Regions from separate parts of the Homo sapiens genome. Here regions 1 and 2 are each linked to region 3. Evidence: promoter capture Hi-C in 16 types of primary human blood cells and fetal thymus (Javierre and others, 2016). All regions are on one chromosome and are shown on one strand. Each heading gives the region's core, a stretch centred on a gene start or on the middle of the fragment in contact. The rest is flanking DNA. Distances are from core to core; before and after follow the strand shown.

The links. The method cuts DNA at HindIII sites, captures the fragments that hold promoters and counts their contacts. A CHiCAGO score of 5 or more calls a contact.
Region 1: a fragment that was not itself captured here is called in contact with the fragment with the promoter of THAP11 in region 3 in 1 of 17 cell types (naive CD8 T cells); the score reaches 5.3 in naive CD8 T cells.
Region 2: a contact is called between a fragment that was not itself captured here and the fragment with the promoter of THAP11 in region 3, in 2 of 17 cell types (naive CD4 T cells and total CD4 T cells). The highest score is 5.5, in naive CD4 T cells.

What each region holds. Positions count from the first base shown.
Region 1 is chr16:67,565,532-67,568,799 of GRCh38, forward strand. The region is part of intron 1 of CTCF (CCCTC-binding factor); the gene reads left to right. Among named protein-coding and RNA genes, the nearest start is that of CTCF, 4.6 kb to the left of the region's middle. The HindIII fragment of the contact is 4,800 bases long and covers 1-3,268 here.
Region 2 is chr16:68,208,857-68,212,118 of GRCh38, forward strand. All of the region lies in intron 9 of NFATC3 (nuclear factor of activated T cells 3), which reads left to right. It also overlaps the pseudogene RPS12P27. Among named protein-coding and RNA genes, the nearest start is that of MIR6773, 23 kb to the right of the region's middle. RefSeq lists an enhancer at 2,288-2,357. The HindIII fragment of the contact is 3,143 bases long and covers 229-3,262 here.
Region 3 is chr16:67,840,499-67,843,827 of GRCh38, forward strand. THAP11 (THAP domain containing 11) reads left to right here and starts at 1,822. Exons shown (of 1, transcript NM_020457.3): 1 at 1,822-3,329. The coding sequence starts at 2,057. The coding sequence ends at 3,001. The region is part of intron 1 of CENPT (centromere protein T); the gene reads right to left. RefSeq lists enhancers at 1,536-1,585, 2,038-2,784, 2,496-2,655, 3,096-3,145 and a silencer at 1,836-2,015. The HindIII fragment of the contact is 11,152 bases long and covers 985-3,329 here.

The sequences.
Region 1 (3,268 bases), core at 368-2,867, 280 kb before region 3:
GGCATGGTGGCACACGCCGTAGTCCTGGCTACTAGGGAGGCTGAGACAGGAGAACCGCTCGAACCTAGAAGGTGGAGGTTGCAGTGAGCCGAGATTGTGCTGCTGCACTCCAGCCTGGGCAACAGAGCAAGACTCTTATCTCAAAAAAAAAAAAAAAAAAAAAGAGTAGTTGTAAAGGTTAACTTTATCGGGATCCATTCAACCTATGTAAGAATTTAAGAGGTGAAGTTGTCCTTAAGATGCATTCAAATTCTAAGAGCTTTAGGATTTTATTTTAAAGTACACACGCAAATGGGGGCACTCACCTGGGACTTCTGAATGGCTTGGGGAGTTCCTTGGTGGAAGCCACTTGTGGCTGACTTAAGGCCCTGGGGAGGAATCCTGGGCAGAGCCTTGCAGGCTGGTGCCTCCTGGCCAAAAGTCACCTCTAGAGACTGCTTTTTTTGCTTCAGGGATGCTGCTGCTGTCACAGCCATTCCACATCATCTACGTTATAGACTCCACCTAATTTTTTTAAACTAGACCATCTGTCTGCCTAATTTACCTGTCTTGGCTCCAGATGACTTGACTGTTTTGCCAAAAATTAGGCCCCTCTTCAAACAACTCAGATGCATTATGATTTAAAAAGAACAATAATGGCAAATAATGTGTAACTTTGAAGACCATGGTTCTCAATTGATGTGATTTGTAGGTGGGACATGGTGGCTCACACCTGTAATCCCAGCACTTTGGGAGGCTGAGGCGGGCGGATCACCTGAGGTCAGGAGTTTGAGACCAGCCTGGCCAACATGGTGAGACCCCATCTTTACCAAAAACACAAAAATTAGCTGAGCGTGGTGGCATATGTCTGTTTCTGTAATCCCAGCTACTCAGGAGGCTGAGTCAGGAGAATCACTTGAACCCGGGAGGCGGAGGTTGCAGTGAGTCAAGATCGTGCCGTTGCACTCCAGCCTGGGTGACAGAGTGAGACTTTGTCTCAAAATTAAAAAAAAAAAAAAAAAAAAAAAAAGATTAGTCTTACCACATTTGTTTTGTTGTTCTTGTGGGGTATTTGTTTGTTTTGGAGATGGAGTCTCGCTTTGTCTACCAGGCTGGAGTGCAGGGGCACGATCTCGGCTCACTGCAAGCTCTACCTCCCAGGTTCACGCCATTCTCCTGCCTCAGCCTCCCGAGTAGCTGGGAGGACTACAGGCGCCTGCCACCACGCCTGGCTAATTTTTTGTATTTTTAGTAGAGACGGGGTTTCACCGTGTTAGCAAGGATGGTTTCGATCTCCTGACCTGCCCGCCTCCGCCTCTCAAAGTGCTGGGATTACAGGCGTGAGCCACCGTGCCCGGCCTGTGGGGTTTGTTTGTTTGTTTTAAGACAGGGTCTTTCTCTTTTACCCAGGCTGGAGTGCAGTGGTGTGATCACAGCTCACTGCAGCCTCCACCTCCCTGGCTCAAATGATCCTGCCACCTCAGCCTCCTGGGTAGCTGGGACTAATTTTTTCTAGGTATGGGGTTTTGTCATGTTGCCTAGGCTGGTCTCAAACTCGTGGCCTCAAGCAGTCTGTCTGCCTTGGCCTCCCAAAGTGCTGGGATTAGGTGTGAGCCACCGTGTCCAGCCCATTTTTTTTAAACACCTGTAAACTTTCTGTAGTCTGTCTTCGTATCTTTCCTGCTAGTATCTTTGTGCATTTTCTCAGTGATTTAATATTTGAATGCAAAGTTGTGGCATTGCATATAGACTGCCAAAATACAGTCCAAAGGTGAGGGTTAGGATGGTATTCTTTCACACTTGATCCTTGTTTTTGGTCACTCTTGGAATTTTCAGGGGTAGAAAATTTCATTCCCTTTGAGGTATGCTGGTAATAATAATGGACTCCAGTATGGAAGTGTTGGTTGGACTAAATATGCTAATCACCTATTTGTGTTACTAAAAATTGCCTCTCAACAGAGGAGACTTTAGCTTCATCTAAGTATTAGTGAGTTTTGTGGAGTTTAGCTAATTGTGAGATGGATTTCCTCTTAGAAGATGTACCTCATGTGCCAAATTGCTTGGAAACTTTTTTTTTTTAATACATTTTGATTGAGGCAGTGGCATGATCATAGCTGTTGCCCAGATAGGAGTGCAGTGGCATGATCATAGCTCACTGCAGCCTTGAACTCCTGGGCTCAAGCAGTCTTCCTGCTGCAGCCTCCCAAGTAGCTGGTACTATAGGCGTGTGCCACCATGCCCAGCTGATTCTTTTATTTTTTTGTAGAGACAGGATCCTACTATGTTGCTCAGGCTGGTCTTGAACTCCTGGGCTCAAGCAAGTCTCCCACCTCGGCCTCCCAAAGTGTTGACGTTACAGGTGTGAGCCACCATACTCGGCTTTTTTTTTTTTTTTTTTTTTTTTTGAGACAGGTTGTCACTGTGTTGCCCACACTGCAGTGCAGTGGTGTGATCATGGCTCACTGCAGCCTTGTCCCCCACCTGCCCCAAGCGATCCTCCCACCTCAGCCTTCCAAGTAGCTGGGACCACAGGCACACAACACCATGCCTGGCATATATATGTATACGTGTATATATATATATTTTTTAAGATGGAGTTCACTCTGTCTCCCAGGCTGGAGTGCAGTGGCATGTTCTGGGCTCACTGCAACCCCGGCCTCCCAGGTTCAAGTGATTCTCCTGCTTCAGCCTCGGGAGTAGTTGGGATTACAGGTGCCTGCCACCGTGCCGAGCTAATTTTTGTATTTTTAGTAGAGACGGGGTTTCACCATGTTGGCCAGGCTGGTCTGGAACTCATGACCTCAGGTTATCCACCCACCTCGACCTCCCAAAGTGCTGGGACTACAGACGTGAGCCACCATGCCTGGCCTTTTTTTTGTTGTTGTTCTTCTTCCCTGAGACGAAGTCTTCCTCTGTCACCCAGGCTGGAGTGCAGTGGTGCGATGGTGGCCCACTGCAACCTCCGTCTCCCGGGTTCAACCAGTTCTCCTGCCTCAGCCTCCTGAGAAGCTGGGATTACAGGTGCATACCACCATGCCCAGCTAGTTTTTGTATTTTTAGTAGAGACTGGGTTTCACCACGTTGGCCAGGGTGGTCTCGAACTCTAACCTCATGATCCACCCGCCTGGGCCTCCTAAAGTGCTGGGATTACAGGCGTTAGCCACTGTGCCCGGCCTGCCTGGCTAATTTTTATGTATTTTGTAGAGACGGGGTTTTGCCATGTTGCCCTGACTGGCTTTGAACTCCTAGGCTCGAGCAGTCCTCTGCTGTGGCCTCTCAAAGTGCTGGA
Region 2 (3,262 bases), core at 550-3,049, 370 kb after region 3:
TTAGTGCTAACATTTTTTTGTCTGTGTGGATTCTTTAGAGTTTTATGTTTATACTATCATGCCATTCGTGAATAGAGATAATTTTCTCTCTTCCTTTTTAATTTGGATGGGCTTTATGTATTTATTTATTTTTCTAACCTAATTGCTCTGGCTAGAACTTCTAGTGGTAGGCTAGTAGAAGTGGTGAAAGAGTGGGCATCTTTGCTTTGTTTGTGATCTTAGGGGGAAAGCTTTTGTTCTTTGTTGATAATGATAGGAACTAACAGTTTTTCATATATGGCCTTTTTCATATTGAGGAAATTCCTTCTATTCTTTGTTTATTGAATGTTTTCATCTTGAAAGAGCATTGAATTTTGATAAATGAGTTGGGCACGGTGGCTCACGCCTGTGATACCAGCACTTTGGGAGGCTGAGGCGGGCAGATAGCTAGAACCCAGGAGGTGGAGGCTGCAGTGAGCCGTGATTGGGATGCTACTGCACTCCAGCCTGGGCAACAGAGTGAGACCGTCTCAAAGAAAAAGAGTTCTTTCCCTGCCACTGCTGAGTTGAGTGGAGGCAGAGGCTTGGGTGCATTCAAGATTCAGCTTCACCCGTAGACCACCACCATGGCCACGGAAGGTGTTGCTGCTGGAGGTGTGGTGGCTGTTAATACTGCTTTACAAGAGGTGTTGAAGACTGTCCTCACCCATGATGGCCTAGCACGTGGAATTTGCAAAGCTGCTGAAGGGTCAGGCCCATCTTTTGTGTGTTTGCATCCAACTGTGATGAGCCTATGTCAAGTTCATAGAGGTTCTTTGTGCTGAACACCAAATCAACCTACTTAAGGTTGATGACAAGAAGCTAGGGGGAATGGTTAGGTCTCTGTAAAATTGACAGAGAGGGGAAACCCCGTAAAGTGGTTCGTTGCAGTTGTGTAGTAGTTGAAGTACTTCAAATGCAAGAAATGAACGAATAAAACTCTGGCTAACCCCCCTGCCCCCCAACACACACACAGACACACACACACACACACTCACAGTCACACTCACTCTGGGCATGTTGGCTCAATCCTGTAGTCCTAGCACTTTGGGAGGCCGAGGTGGGCAGATTGCTCGAGCCCAAGAGTTCAAGACCAGCCTGGGCAACATGAAATCCCATCTCTGCTAAAAATACAAAAAATGGCCAGGTGCAGTGGCTCGCGCCTGTAATCCCAGCACTTTGGGAGGCCGAGGTGGGCGGATCACGAGGTCGGGACATTGAGACCATCCTGGCTAACACAGTGAAACTCCATCTCTACTGAAAATACAAAAAAATTAGCTGGGCATGGTGGCGGGCACCTGTAGTCCCAGCTACTCGGGAGGCTGAGGCAGGAGAATGGCGTGAACCCGGAAGGCGGAGCTTGCAGTGAGCCAAGATCATGCCACTGCGCTCCAGCCTGGGCGACAGAGTGAGATTCCTTCTCAAAAAAAAAAAAAGAAAAAAAAAAAGAATACAAAAAATTAGCCAGGTGCTGTGGTCCCAAATACTTGGGAAGCTGAAGTGGGAGGATTGCTTGAGCCTGGGAGGTAGAGGCTGCAGTGAGCCATTATTGTGCCACTGCACACCAGCCTTGGTGACAGAGTGACACCTTGTCTCAAAAAAAATAAAAGAATTTTTACAAACACTTTTCTGCATCTATCGAGATGATCATGTGGTTTTTAAATTAATTTTTGTAGAGGTAGGGTCTTGCCATGTTGCCCATGCCAGTCAGGAGTATGTTTTTTTTTCTTTTGTTCAACTAATTTGGCATATTACTTTAATTGATTTTCATTTGTTGAATCATCCTTGCATTCTGGGAATAAAACTCACTTGGTCTTAATGTATCATCCTTTTAATATGCTGCTGAATTGTGTTAGTGTTTTGTTGATTTTTGCATCTATATTCATAAAGAATATTCTGTAGTTTTTTTGTTTTTTTGTTTGTTTGAGATGGAGTCTTGCTCTGTCGCTCAGGCAGGAATGCAGTGGTGTGACCTCGGCTCACTGCAACCTCTGCCTCCCCAGTTCAAGCGATTCTTCTGCTTCAGCCTCCCGAGTAGCTGGGACTACAAGTGCGCACCACCATGCCCGGCTAATTTTTTTGTATTTTTAGTAGAGATGGGGTTTCACCATATTGGCCAGGCTGGTCTCGAACTCCTGACCTCGTGATCCACCCACCTTAGCCTCCCAGGTGTAAGCCACTGTGCCTAGCCTTTTCTTTTCTTATAGTATCTTTTTCTGGCTTTGTGTCAGAGTAAATTCTGGCCTCATAATGAGTTAGGAAGTGTTTCCTTTTCTTTAATCTTTTTAAGAGTTTCAAAAGAATCGAAACTCTTTTTTCTTTGTTTTGTTTTGAGATGGAGTCTCGCTCTGTCGCCAGGCTGGAGTGCAGTGGCGCGATCTCAGCTCACTGCAACCTCCACCTCCCGGGTTCACGCCATTCTCCTGCCTCAGCCTCTCGAGTAGCTGGGATTACAGGCACTCACCACTATGCCCAGCTAATTTTTGTATTTTTAGTAGAGACGGGGTTTCACCATGTTGGCCAGGATGGTTTCTATCTCCTGACCTTGTGATCCTCCCGCCTCGGCCTCCCAAAGTGCTGGGATTACAGGCGTGAGCCACTGTGCCCGGCTGAAACTCTTCTTCTGTAAATGTTTTTTGTTGTTGTTGTTGTTGTTGTTGTTGTTTGAGTCGGAGTCTCACCCTGTTGCCCAGTCTGGAGTGCAATGGCATGATCTCAGCTCACTGCAACTTCCGCCTCCCAGGTTCAAGCAATTCTCCTGCCTCAGCTTCCTGAGTAGCTGGGATTACAGGCATCTACCACACGCCCAGCTAATTTTTGTGTTTTTAGTAGAGACGGGGTTTCACCATGCTGGCCAGGCTGGTCTCGAACTCCTGACCTCAGGTGATCTACCCGCCTTGGCCTCCCAAAGTGCTGGGATTACAGGCATGAGGCACCGTGCCCGGCACACTTTTGTAAATGTTTGGTCAAAGTTCTTGTGATCAGGAGAGATGAATGAGGTATATTTTGGAGCTCACGAAAGTGCTTCAAGGAACTAGAAGGATTTCTGGAGCACTGCAAGTTTCTGTAAAGCACAATCTGAAAGTACCACTGAATTCATCCACTCACAAAAGCTCCCATAGTGTGTGTTGGCCTCTTGCTTTGTTCCTGGGATGCTTTCTTATGATTTTTATGCTGCTGTACCTGTAATCACATGTTCTATACCTTCAAGTCTGTTTTGGAGGATTCAGTTGTGGAGATTGGG
Region 3 (3,329 bases), core at 572-3,071:
ACCAAATACCACATATTCTCACAAGTGTGAGTTAAATGATGAGAACTCATGAACACAAAGAAGACAACAACAGACACTGGGGTCTAATTGCGGGGGGCGGGAGGAGGGAGAGGAACAGAAAAGATAACTATTGGGTACTGGGCTTAATACCTGGGTGATGAAATAATCTGTACAACAAATCGCGGTGACACGAGTTCACCTATGTAGTAAACCTTCACACGTACCCCCGAACCTAAAGTAAAAGTTTAAAAAAAATTGGGAGAAGGAAGAACTCGGCAAAGGAGGGCTAGTTTGCAGGTAATTCACCTGGAGAACTGCCTGGCCCCTCCCTGGCTTTCCACAACATTTTGTGTTCTTTAAAACATTTTCCCCCAGCCAGGCGCCGTGATCCTAGCTCACGCCTGTAATCCTAGCACTTTGGGAGGCCGAGGCGAGCAGATTGCCTGAGCTCACGAGTTCGAGACCAGCCTGAGAAACATGGCGAAACCCCGTCTCTACTAAATACAAAATACATATATATATATATATATATATATATATATATATATTAGCCGGGCATGGTGGCATGCGCCTGTAGTCCCAGCTACTCCGGAGGCTGAGGCAGGAGAATTGCTTGAACCCAGGAGGCGGAGGTTGCGGTGAGCCGAGATCTCACCATTGCACTCCAGTCTGGCGACACAGTGAGACTCCTTTACAAAAAAAAAAAAAAAAAAAAAAAAAAAAGATTCCCTCAAATAAGTTGAGGTGGGGGGAGGTGTATTGTTACAATGCAAATCCTTTCCCATAAAATCCTTTAATAGCTCTCAGTGGCCTGCAGAATAAAACCCCAAATCCTTAACATGTCCCAGTTTGGTATTTTCCTACGCTTGGCCCTACCCGGGCCACCCCTTTCCAGGCTCTTTAATGGCGGAGCCTAGCTCTTTTCTGCCATGTGGCCTTACAGACTGGTTCCTGGGACAAGAATTGGCTACTTCTCCCTACCCAAGCTTTCGTTCGTTTTTTTATTCCTGGCCCCCACCACCTCCCCCCCATTTCTCTGCTCTCCTGTTAATTCCTTTGGAGCGATTACTATTTGTGAGTAGACATCCATTCGCGTGCATTCAGATCTATTATCCAAAAGACAGACGCTTATCCGTCTAGGTAGTCAGGCTCCAAGAGAGGAGCCCAGTCGGTCTGACTCCCGCAAACTCCCGGCACCGTGTCAGCCACATAGTAGGCGTCTACTGGAGACTTTGTTTAGATCAGTTAGTCAACGCAGGCAGCAGCTGAATCAGGAGAGAGTCCCCAACGCAAAGAAAGGGGCTCCTGAGACCCTTCGGGGCGCCGAGGCCCAGGTTTCGTCTCCCTCTGCTGCAGCAATGCCGTCGACTCAAAGGGGCTCGGGGCTGGGGAACTGGTTCTGGCAAACAGCACAACCTCGCCCGAATCCTGGTCCGCAGTAACTCGATCTTTCCCTTAGGCGGCGCTTCGGAGGGAAGGCGCCTAGTTCAGCGCGAGGCATCACGGGATTTGTAGTCTCCGTGGGCATATACCCACCGCGCTTGCGCACCGGTGAGGCGCGCACCGCCCCGCTCCACGCCCCTATCAGGATTCGGGTCCTCGTGAGGAGCAGTCCAGGCGACAGCGTTCCAACCTAATACGCCTCTCTCGCCCGCCGGGGACAAGACGGGCTGGGGAAAGAATCTGCTCTTCGGAGGCTATCGCAGTGCCTTGGAAGGCGGCAGGAATCCGCACACACCCGCCCCGGAAGTGAGCCGCTTCTGGCGCGGGGCATTGTGGGGGGCGTAGTCTCTTTCTCAGGCGGTCCTTCGCGGCGTCCCCGGGGCCCACTCCCGAGCGCAGGCGGGCAGCCAGGCGGGCGGCGCGGCGCGGGCCGGCAGGAAGCGTATTCTGGGCACGGGGCGCCGGGCGGGCCGGCTGCGCCGAGCGGCAGTGGTGGGATACCACCCAAGGCCTCGCGCGGCGCCGCCCGTCGAGGGGCGGGCGGCGGCGTAGCCACTGGGCCGTCGAAGAGCGCAGGAGGCCGGTGGGCCGGGCCGGGCCGCGCGGCGCAGCCATGCCTGGCTTTACGTGCTGCGTGCCAGGCTGCTACAACAACTCGCACCGGGACAAGGCGCTGCACTTCTACACGTTTCCAAAGGACGCTGAGTTGCGGCGCCTCTGGCTCAAGAACGTGTCGCGTGCCGGCGTCAGTGGGTGCTTCTCCACCTTCCAGCCCACCACAGGCCACCGTCTCTGCAGCGTTCACTTCCAGGGCGGCCGCAAGACCTACACGGTACGCGTCCCCACCATCTTCCCGCTGCGCGGCGTCAATGAGCGCAAAGTAGCGCGCAGACCCGCTGGGGCCGCGGCCGCCCGCCGCAGGCAGCAGCAGCAACAGCAGCAGCAGCAGCAACAGCAGCAACAGCAGCAGCAGCAGCAACAGCAGCAGCAGCAGCAGCAGCAGCAGCAGTCCTCACCCTCTGCCTCCACTGCCCAGACTGCCCAGCTGCAGCCGAACCTGGTATCTGCTTCCGCGGCCGTGCTTCTCACCCTTCAGGCCACTGTAGACAGCAGTCAGGCTCCGGGATCCGTACAGCCGGCGCCCATCACTCCCACTGGAGAAGACGTGAAGCCCATCGATCTCACAGTGCAAGTGGAGTTTGCAGCCGCAGAGGGCGCAGCCGCTGCGGCCGCCGCGTCGGAGTTACAGGCTGCTACCGCAGGGCTGGAGGCTGCCGAGTGCCCTATGGGCCCCCAGTTGGTGGTGGTAGGGGAAGAGGGCTTCCCTGATACTGGCTCCGACCATTCGTACTCCTTGTCGTCAGGCACCACGGAGGAGGAGCTCCTGCGCAAGCTGAATGAGCAGCGGGACATCCTGGCTCTGATGGAAGTGAAGATGAAAGAGATGAAAGGCAGCATTCGCCACCTGCGTCTCACTGAGGCCAAGCTGCGCGAAGAACTGCGTGAGAAGGATCGGCTGCTTGCCATGGCTGTCATCCGCAAGAAGCACGGAATGTGAACTGGTGCCCCGGCAGCCTGCTGGACTCCCAGACCCCATCCAGCCAGGGGACCGCAGGCCATTGTTGAACTCCTCTATACTCCTGGGCACTGGTTGACAGTACTGAGGCTTAAGGCAGCTGGACTCTCTTGCTGGTGACCTGGCATCCTCAATTGTTTCCTCCTGAAGTGGAAGCTGGGGCCTTAGACTCTGCCCTGGTGACACCAGCAATTATGACTTTGTCTACCCTTCCTCCCCAGTTATTGTTGCAGATTCTGGTTAAGCAGAGGCTTCAGAACCACTGAACTTGAAACTTACCCTCTAGGGATGCAGGTGGGATGTCCAGGGA